3 separate regions of the Homo sapiens genome follow, and all the other regions are linked to region 1. The links are contacts of gene promoters, found by promoter capture Hi-C in blood cells and fetal thymus (Javierre and others, 2016). All regions are on one chromosome and are shown on one strand. The core of a region is centred on a gene start or on the middle of the fragment in contact, and the rest is flanking DNA. Distances in the headings are between cores, read along the strand shown.

Region 1 (2,959 bases), core at 160-2,659:
TTAAGGAAGATAACTCCATTTACAGCTGGTATAGCCTTAACACTTTCCCAACACTTGCTAATTTCCCCTTTGTAACAGAAAGACAGTATTTAATACAATTTCATAACTTTTTAATTTGTTTGTTTTTTTTTAATGATTACTCACCCATTTGTGGCAAGTGGCACTGGCTTCCCATTCACCATAAGGATTTTGTTTCAAGGAAATTAATTTAATTTTTAAATGGGACATAGCTATACAAAAAAACACATCTAGTAATCAAAAGTTCAAGCAGTACTGCCATTAGGCAAAAATCCCGAAAGTGGTACACGGTAATTTAACGTTGAGAAAACGACTTCATGAAATTTCTTTTTTTTTTTTTTTTTTGCGCGGGGGAGACAAAGTCTCGCTCTGACGCCCAGGTTGCAGTGCAGTGGTGCAATCTCGCCTCAAAGCAATCTCTGCCTCCCGGGTTCAAGCGATTCTCCTGTCTCAGCCTCCTGAGTAGCTGGGATTACAGGCACCTGCCATCACGCCTGGCAAATTTTTGTATTTTTAGTAGAGGCGGGGTTTCACCATGTTGGCCAGGCTGGTCTCAAACTCCTGACCTCAGGGGATCCTCCAGCCTCGGCCTCCCAAAGTGCTGAGATTATAGGCCGGAGCCACCGCGCCCGGGCTCATGACAATTTTCTAAGGCAGCACAGATGAAACAAGGAAAGCAGGAACCAGGGTCCAAAACCATGTCTCTCTACTCTAAATTCGATGCTCCTTCCACTACACTGATGGCTTTCACAGTTTACAGTGCATGCAAATCACCTAAAGGTCCTGTTCACAGATCACAGATACCGACCAAGTAGGTCGGGGTGGGGCCCGAGAATCTGTATTTCTAGCGAGCGCCCAGAAGTAGCGGAGGCTGCTGGTCGTCGGGCTACCCTTTGCCTGGCAAGGCCCTGGGCAAAGACTACAAAGAGAGAGACTCCCGGAGACGCTGAATTTTCAGTGTCGCCAACTGTCCTCGACTCGGAACGCTGGCCGCACCTGCCGTGACATCACTGCACAGGGGTGCAATTGCGTCACTCCCCAGGCGTCACTGCCGAAACAACCCCTGTCCTCCTGTCACTCTCGCCGCTAACTACAGACCCCGCCCCGCCCGCCAGCGCCCCGGAGGCCGAAGTCACGCAGTCGCGCTCCGTCGCAGGCCTGTGACGTTACGAACCTCTCCCCCGTGACCTCTTCGACCCAAACCTCAAGCGAAAATTCCCTAGCTCGCTAGACCGGCGCAGGACTGTGACTGCGCGCCTCCTTTTACCTGAGAGGGACCGCCGGGCCCCCGGGCGCAGCCGCCAAAGGCGGGGAGCCGCCGCCGCCCCGGCGCAACTCATTGCCGGAACTAAAAAAAGCAACCACTTCGTTGAACGGAACTGGCCAATAGTGCCCTTGGCTCGGACTGATGACGCACAGCAGACGTAAGGAAGGCTCAGCTCGCCCGCGCACCGGTGGGAACGCCCCCTAGCTCTGCGCTAGGGGTTAGATTGGTTAGATACGACAAATAAAAAGATTTTATTGGGTGGGGTCACTGTCAATCACTCGGAAGACCAAGGCCAAGGCGCCTTGGGTTGCCAGGGAGATGAAAATGCTAAATTGCTGTTTAGAAAGATCAGGACAAGGTTATGATTTCTCACCCAAGTTCCTGGGGAAAAGGATCATGAGGGAATTACTTATTAACAAGGCACGGTATTTCCTGCTTTACCTACGTGGAAGGAGATTTTTTTTTTTATTTGTATCCTACATCTACTTTAAAATAGTAAGCCTGGGCAACATAGCGAGACCCCGCCTCTACAAATAATTTTAAAAATTAGCCGGGTCTGGTGGAGCACACCTGTAGTCCCAGCTACTCGGGAGGCTGAGGTGGGGGGATAGCTTGAGCCCGGTAGCTCGAGGCTGCAGTCAGCCGTGATTCTGCCACTGCACTCTAGCCTGGGCCCTGTCTGAAAAATAAATAAATAAATAAAATTATATGTATATCTAAATTACATGCACCACATGGTTAATGGTGTTATATAGTGTTATCTCTATTGGTGGGCTGAAAGCCAACTTTAAACTTCTTCCCGGTCTTTTCTCTATTTTCAGAAACAGAGAACATGTTTTATCCTTGGTATCCACCTTAATGTACTGTGTGCATGTATGCATGTATATTTGTGCAAATTGGAATTTTTTGAGAAGGGAGGGGAAATTTAGCAACATACTTTAAAAAGATCATATAATACAGCAGTCTTACTTTTAGGAATCTACTCAACGAAATAATTTTTAAATGAGTAATGTACATGAGGGCAAAAATCAAAGATGCGTGTCTGCAAGGATATACAACGTTTAATATTGGCAACATCAGGGGGCTGGAACTGGGAGAAGGGAGCTTTCACTTTCTACTTTACACCCTTGGATTATTTATATACTTTATCCAAGTTTACCATAAAATATTTTAAGATGGAATACAATTGTAAAATTATTGAATTCAAGTTTTTAGTTTTTATATCACTCTAGTGTTCAAATTGACACACCAAAATAATTTAAAATTATGATGAACCCAAATACTACTTAGTGAGGATGTTGTAGCACTCTCATGTAAAACTACTGAGTGTCTGAATCTGGCGCTCAAAAGCCTTAAAATGTTCAAAACCTTTGCTGTAATACCACTTCTAGGTCTCTGTTTCCTTTTTGTTTTGTTTTTTGTTTTTGTTCTTTTTAAATGGAGTTTCACTCTGTCGCACAGGCTGGATTGCAGTGGGGAGACCTTGGCTCACTGGAACCTCTGCCTCCCGGGTTCAAGCGATTCTCCTGCCTCAGCCTCCCAAGTAGATGGGATTACAGGTACACACACCACCACGCCCAGCTGAGACTGGGTTTCGCTGTGTTGGCCAGGCTGGTCTCAAATTCCTGACCTCAAGTGATCCTCCCACCTTGTCCTCCCAAAGTGCTGGGATTA
Region 2 (2,959 bases), core at 284-2,783, 8.5 Mb before region 1:
TCTATAGCAACATTACATTGACCTTTCCAGAAGGCAAAATGGTAAAGCACATTTTATAGTACCTCTAAAGTACAAAGGGAAAAGATATATTTTAAGCATATGACAGAATGTTCAATTAAAAACATTTTCTCCACACTACATTCAGTGAATATAAAAAGAATGTGGATTCCCCAGGAACAAATTCCCGAGAAGTGAGGGACAGTGCTGTAATTAGAAAAATGATCTGGACTCTAGCCCAGACCCTACCAGTCTCTCTAGACTTTAGTCTTCCCATCTGCAAAGTGAGATATCAGAATAGCCTATTTTCCATTTGCTTCCAATTGTCAATACCATGACTCTAATCAGGGATCCCTAAATGGGGGCCCACAAGCTGTCTCTGGCCTTCAGAGTGACTGGCCAACCCTGTTTTTGAGAAGTACCCCAAGAGGACAATCAGCTGGTGCTTGGTGAGCAGCTTTCCTTTCAGGTGAGGAATTGATTTTCAGTTACAGCCTCAATCCGGCTCACTAGACTCTCCTCTGCAGACATCTGCATTTACAACCTCTGGAATAAAGGGACCCTCAAAACCGGTCCAAATCTCAAGCTCCATAATTCAGCTCCAGAGACAGGGTGTCTGGGTTTCTCACTCACTCTGCTACATGCTGGTTGTTTGACTTTGGGCAAGTTCCTTAACACCTCTGAGCCTCAGTTTCATCATCTGTAAAATGGAACAACGCTGAACTCAAAAGGCTGGTATGAAGCTTAGCGAGGTGTTGCCCAAGAGTACTTACAGAGTTCTTGGTACTGGAAAGCACTTTGTTAAAGGGAGCTATTATTATTAACGCCAAGGCACAGAAAGGGAGTATTTCCTAAACTCCCTTCACCCCCCACACCAATTCCCTTTCCCAGCACCTGACGATTGCACTCCCACGATCAAGCTTGTTTTCATATCAACTCCCAAATCCGACAGTTCCACATCCCAACATTCACAAGACCCTCCTCAGACCTCTACTTCTCCTTCCCCACCCTACATCCCTTCACTGAGCTCCCGGCCAGTACCGGTTTCCTTCACGACCACAGCCGAGCAGAATGGTCACAGCACTGACCACTCCCCCAGGCTCTCCTCCGCGTTCCAGACCACTAAGCCTCCCTATCCCTCATTTCGGAGACCCCCTTGGGTCAGGAAGTGGTGGTCCAGGGGTTCATGGCCTAGGATTCTGCCCAAAGCGCGGTCGGGAGGGATGGGAGAATAACAGCCCGACCTCCCGGAGGGGCCCACAGACACTCACCGTCCATCCCTAGAGGCGGCGGTTCCGGGAGCTCGAACCGGAAGCGGCCTCTACACTGTTTGCAGTTCCCCTGGTTACTGCGGGGCCCCGGACCAATGACGGTGGAGCTCCACTTACTGAGCCCGCCCCCGGGGAGTGACGTCATGCCGGCGCGCTGGAACTCCTCCTCCGAACCCTGGGTCTGACCCACCTCCCCGGGCCCCGGATCGTTGTGCGCAGGCGCGATGGACCAAGGCCCTTGGCGGTGCGTTGCGCATGCGCCCCGGGCGCCGCCGACTGAAGTAGCAATGGACGCGCTGGAGTCGTTGTTGGACGAAGTCGCTCTGGAGGGGCTCGATGGCCTGTGTCTGCCAGCGCTGTGGAGCCGGCTGGAGACGCGAGTGCCGCCCTTCCCGCTGCCTTTGGAACCCTGCACGCAGGAGTTTCTCTGGCGGGCCCTCGCCACGCACCCGGGCATCAGCTTCTATGAGGAGCCTCGGGAGCGACCCGACCTACAGCTCCAGGACCGGTCAGCGGGCGGCCTGGCCTGGCGGGCGGGCGGGCGGGCGCAGGGCCCGGGGGCTGATGGAGCTGGGGGCAGGGCGGGGGAATGGAGTGGGGCTGTGCAAGTACCGGAGGCCTGTTGATTGAGTTGGGGCACGGCGGTAAGGCTAATCTGGGGTCCCTCAGGCCTGGCAGGGCCCTGGAGTCCGATGGAGTTGGCGGGGGGAGGGGGAGAATCTAGTGATGTCCCGTTTTGTCCCTGTGTGTGTTTTGGGGTAATGGCGAACAGGATTGGGGATATTCTTCAGGCTTAAAAGAATGTTTCCTTTACATTGGAGGATAGGATTAGAGCAGGAAAGACACTTTAGAGCCAGACTGGAGACTCCTGAGATCAACAGACCCTCATGGTATATTCATTCGGTGCAGATAGCCTAGGGCAACTCGAGATCTGCGTATCAGGACAATTAGCGATAATGCTAAAAGCTGACATTTATCAGGGACTTCATGGGTGAGGTGCTGTTCTTTTTTTTCTTTTTTGAGATAGAGTCTCTCTCTGTGGCCCAGGCTGGAGTGCAGTGGCGCGATCTTGGCTCACTGCAACCTCCGTCCGCCTCCCAGGTTCAAGCGATTCTCGTGCCTCAGCCTCCTGAGTAACTGGGATTACAGGCATGTTCCACCACGCCCGGCTAATTTTTGCATTTTTAGTAGGTATGGGGTGTCATCATGTTGGCCAGGCTGGTCGCGAACTCCTGACCTCAGACAATCCGCACCTCTCGGCCTCCCAAAGTGCTGTGATTACAGGCGTGAGCCACGGCGCCCGGCCACATTGCTGTTCTAAGAATCTATTCTAGAAGCTTTAGGAGCTTAAACTCACTTGATCCTCACTTGATTAAACTCCGTTAAACAGGAGATTAAATTCACTTGATCCTCACCTATGAGGTAGGTGCTGTTATCGTCCTCATTTTACAGAGGAAGACACTGAGTCACAGAGAGGGATTATGTAACCTAAGGTTCTGGGGGCAATAAGTGACTAAGAATTGATTTGAACCCAGGCTATTTTCAGCGTCTGTGCTCTTAAGCCATATTGTGAGGGTCAGGGGAGGTTCCAAGAGGTAATAATGTCCAAGACAGGCCGGGTGCAGCAGCTCATGCCTGCAATCCCAGTACTTTGGGAGGCTGAGGTGGATGGGTCACAAGGTCGGCAGTTC
Region 3 (2,959 bases), core at 260-2,759, 5.1 Mb after region 1:
CCACAGATACAGTTTCCTCACAAAAAGATTTCTCATCACTCTTTCCACATGACAAAAACCAGTATCAAAGGCAACAGCATTGTCTGTGAAAGCTTTAATAAAACCACGTTTGTTTTTCTGGCGAAAGAGGCGCAAGATGAATGCTTCTTGACAAGACTCGATTATTCTGTGGGCTCTATACACCAAGATGCCTGAGGGGGAGAAACATAATTTAAACTACAGAACAGGTAGGTAATTGCCATTCATTCATCACATTTTTCTTAAGTACTTACAAGAGAATGAATAAGCACCATTCTAGACTGGGCATATAGCCACGCACAGAACAGAGATAAATCCCTGTCCTCAAGGAATTGACTATAAACAATATAAATACGTAAAATATTTAGGATGCTACAAGTGCTGAGAAGAAAAAATGAATCAGAGAAGGAGGAGAGGGAGTATGTATGAGGGGTGGTCTCACCAAGGTGGTATCTGAATAAAGGCTGGATGGAGCCTTGTGACCATCTGGGCCAAGAGAGTTCCAGGCTGCCAGGCTGAGGGGACAGTGAGGGCACAGGCCCTGGGGTGGGGTGTTTCTGGCATGTCAGAGGAAGAATTTCTGAAAGCAAAGTAGGTCATGAATTTTTTTTTTTTAATGTATGAATCAGATGTGGACTATACAAAATAGCCACATTTTAGAAGTCTGGGCAACATCTACATTACCTATGAGATGAATTCAATTTTCAGAATCAGAAGATAGTCAATTCAGAGGTAAATTAGTCCATTTAAAACAAAAACCTTCAATCGACATACTTATACATGTCTTTGGGGGTGTACATGATTATAACACCTCAGCATCTCAAAAATAAGAACAATTATACATGCTTTGTTATTTATGAAATGAGACTACTGACCCAGATCTTTCATATATATTGTGTCATCTGATGCAGTGTGATTAGTGCTAAGTTAGGGAGAAACATGAGATGACATAAAGGCATACAGACATGCTTTCTAGATCAAAACCACAATTACTCCAAGACGAGTCTGTCTTTTAGACCTAAATCAAGCTGGTTACCTTATATATATTTGGCATAATGGTACTTGCATGCTTTTGATCCAGTTCTCATATCTGGAAGGGTATGGACAATAATACTAACAGTGATTTATGACCCTTCTAATAGTTCAATAAACTAAACTCAGATTTTACTATTTTAATGTTTAAGTTTTGGATAGAGGTGGATGGAGCTAAATTTACTCTAGCTCAGCAAATTATCTTCCAAATATAGTAAAAATTAATAATGTTATTTAGGAATTCATAGACAAAGGATTTTCAATAACCCCCCCAATACACGTACATAACTAATTTACTACTCAGAAAATATTCTGTACCTAATTGGTGGGTTTTCCCAAGGACTCTAAGAGGCCACATTTTGTTAGCCTGGATTGAAATATTACGTAGAGTCAAGAATAATAAAAATGAACTTCCAAAGAAAAGGAGAAACTCAATTTAAGAAAATGTTGCGCTCCAAAAAGTTGTCTTTATTTTGGTTGGAACCCAGGAGGAAGAAGAGAACTGATACTACATCCCAGGTAACTGGGTTAGGTGTTTCTATAGATTTTCATTTCATTTAATTGTTATGATAATTCCATGCAGTAGGTATCATGATGAGACCAAGGAAGGGAAGCAACTTAACCAAGGTCATCCAGCAAGCAAGTGGGAGGCCGAAGGTTCCAAATCATGTGTAAAATCATGTTATTCCTATTTAGTCACACCAACTCAAGACACTCCTTTTTCAAAAAATAAAAATAATAGAAGCAGGTTAGGTTTTTGGGAGGAGTTTTAGCTCCACAAAAGCCTACTTTAGTTTTTTTTGTTCCTATGACATTTTGTACCCATACTGTACTATAACTACTTCTTTACTTGTCTCCTCCATTAAACTGCCCGAGAACAGGAACATCGTAACACCAACAGGCAGAGATCACAGAGATCATAGAATGCTGACTATGTGCCATGCTACCAAGTATTTTACATATAAGCATTTCATTTCACCCTGACAATCCTAGGAGGAAGGTACTATCTTTATCACCAATGTACGGGTGAGTAAGCTGAGGCATAGAGAAATTAAGAAACTTGCCTAAAAATACACAGCTGGTGCAAGATGAAGATAACTCAAACCCAGAAGCAGTCTAACTCACGAGTTCACCATACTGTCCCATTCATCTGTCTATCTTCAGCACCCTTCCTGCCAAACAAGGGACCCTTAGTGAGTTAAATATTTGTTGAATGAATATAAAGTGGAGGCACAGCACTGGGTACACAAATCAAAAGTGTAACTGAAAAATACATATATATTTCCCAGAAAGTGTGTTCTTAGTTCTGTCTGGAGATGTCAGGGTCAGTTTTGGCAATGAAAGCATCCTCCTGTCCTGTTCTTTTCAAGGTACAACCTCACCAGATATTTATATAGTTCTCCCACGTGTTAGGAGTTCTGGTTAGCAGGGATTCCCAGGGTGGGGTGTGGTGGTAATAATGGGTGGTGACAGGTGAAGAAGTTGGGGCTGGGGGATTCAGCCTTTCCAGAGGGTTACCTGCACTTCACGCACTGCTCTTTGGTCAGTCCTGGGGGATGATCCCAGGGGATGAAAGAATTCAAAAGAATTCATTTTTGGCATTCATTTACATTCCACTCAGCCAAGCATCAGTAACAGCTCCAGCTTCATTATTCGGTGGGCTTTGATCAGAAAGGAGGAGGGAATTTGGCATTTTTCATTAGGAGCTACAGATAAGCCAGACTTCAACGTTGCATAAATTCACATTGCTCTCTGCCTAATTAGGTTGCACTGTAACTGAAAGTCACAGGATATTACTGACACCTAGTGGTAGTTTTAAACACAACAAAAAAATTTTTTTAAATCAATTTAAAAAATAAAGTAAAACCAAGCTTATAAGAAAGCAGCAAACAGTAAAAGACTGGTGTAT

The links. Contacts are between HindIII fragments. The CHiCAGO score rates a contact against its expected background, and 5 or more counts as called.
Region 2: a contact is called between the fragment with the promoter of GTF3C1 here and the fragment with the promoter of COQ7 in region 1, in 1 of 17 cell types (fetal thymus). The highest score is 8.2, in fetal thymus.
Region 3: a contact is called between a fragment that was not itself captured here and the fragment with the promoter of COQ7 in region 1, in 1 of 17 cell types (total CD4 T cells). The highest score is 6.4, in total CD4 T cells.

What each region holds. Positions count from the first base shown.
Region 1 is chr16:19,066,064-19,069,022 of GRCh38, reverse strand. COQ7 (coenzyme Q7, hydroxylase) reads right to left here and starts at 1,409. Exons shown (of 6, transcript NM_016138.5): 1 at 1,286-1,409. The coding sequence starts at 1,358. COQ7-DT (COQ7 divergent transcript) reads left to right here and starts at 1,332. Exons shown (of 3, transcript NR_119381.1): 1 at 1,332-1,442. RefSeq lists an enhancer at 1,046-1,195 and a silencer at 1,226-1,385. The HindIII fragment of the contact is 11,366 bases long and covers 1-2,959 here.
Region 2 is chr16:27,548,487-27,551,445 of GRCh38, reverse strand. GTF3C1 (general transcription factor IIIC subunit 1) reads left to right here and starts at 1,533. Exons shown (of 37, transcript NM_001520.4): 1 at 1,533-1,776. The coding sequence starts at 1,556. It overlaps KATNIP (katanin interacting protein), which reads right to left and starts at 1,302. Exons shown (of 28, transcript NM_015202.5): 1 at 1,269-1,302. The coding sequence starts at 1,275. RefSeq lists enhancers at 1,437-1,546, 1,557-1,636. The HindIII fragment of the contact is 1,688 bases long and covers 920-2,607 here.
Region 3 is chr16:13,923,793-13,926,751 of GRCh38, reverse strand. It overlaps ERCC4 (ERCC excision repair 4, endonuclease catalytic subunit), which reads right to left. Exons shown (of 11, transcript NM_005236.3): 3 at 1-191. It overlaps LOC105371093 (a long non-coding RNA gene), which reads left to right and starts at 146. Exons shown (of 4, transcript XR_007065000.1): 1 at 146-227. The HindIII fragment of the contact is 2,829 bases long and covers 95-2,923 here.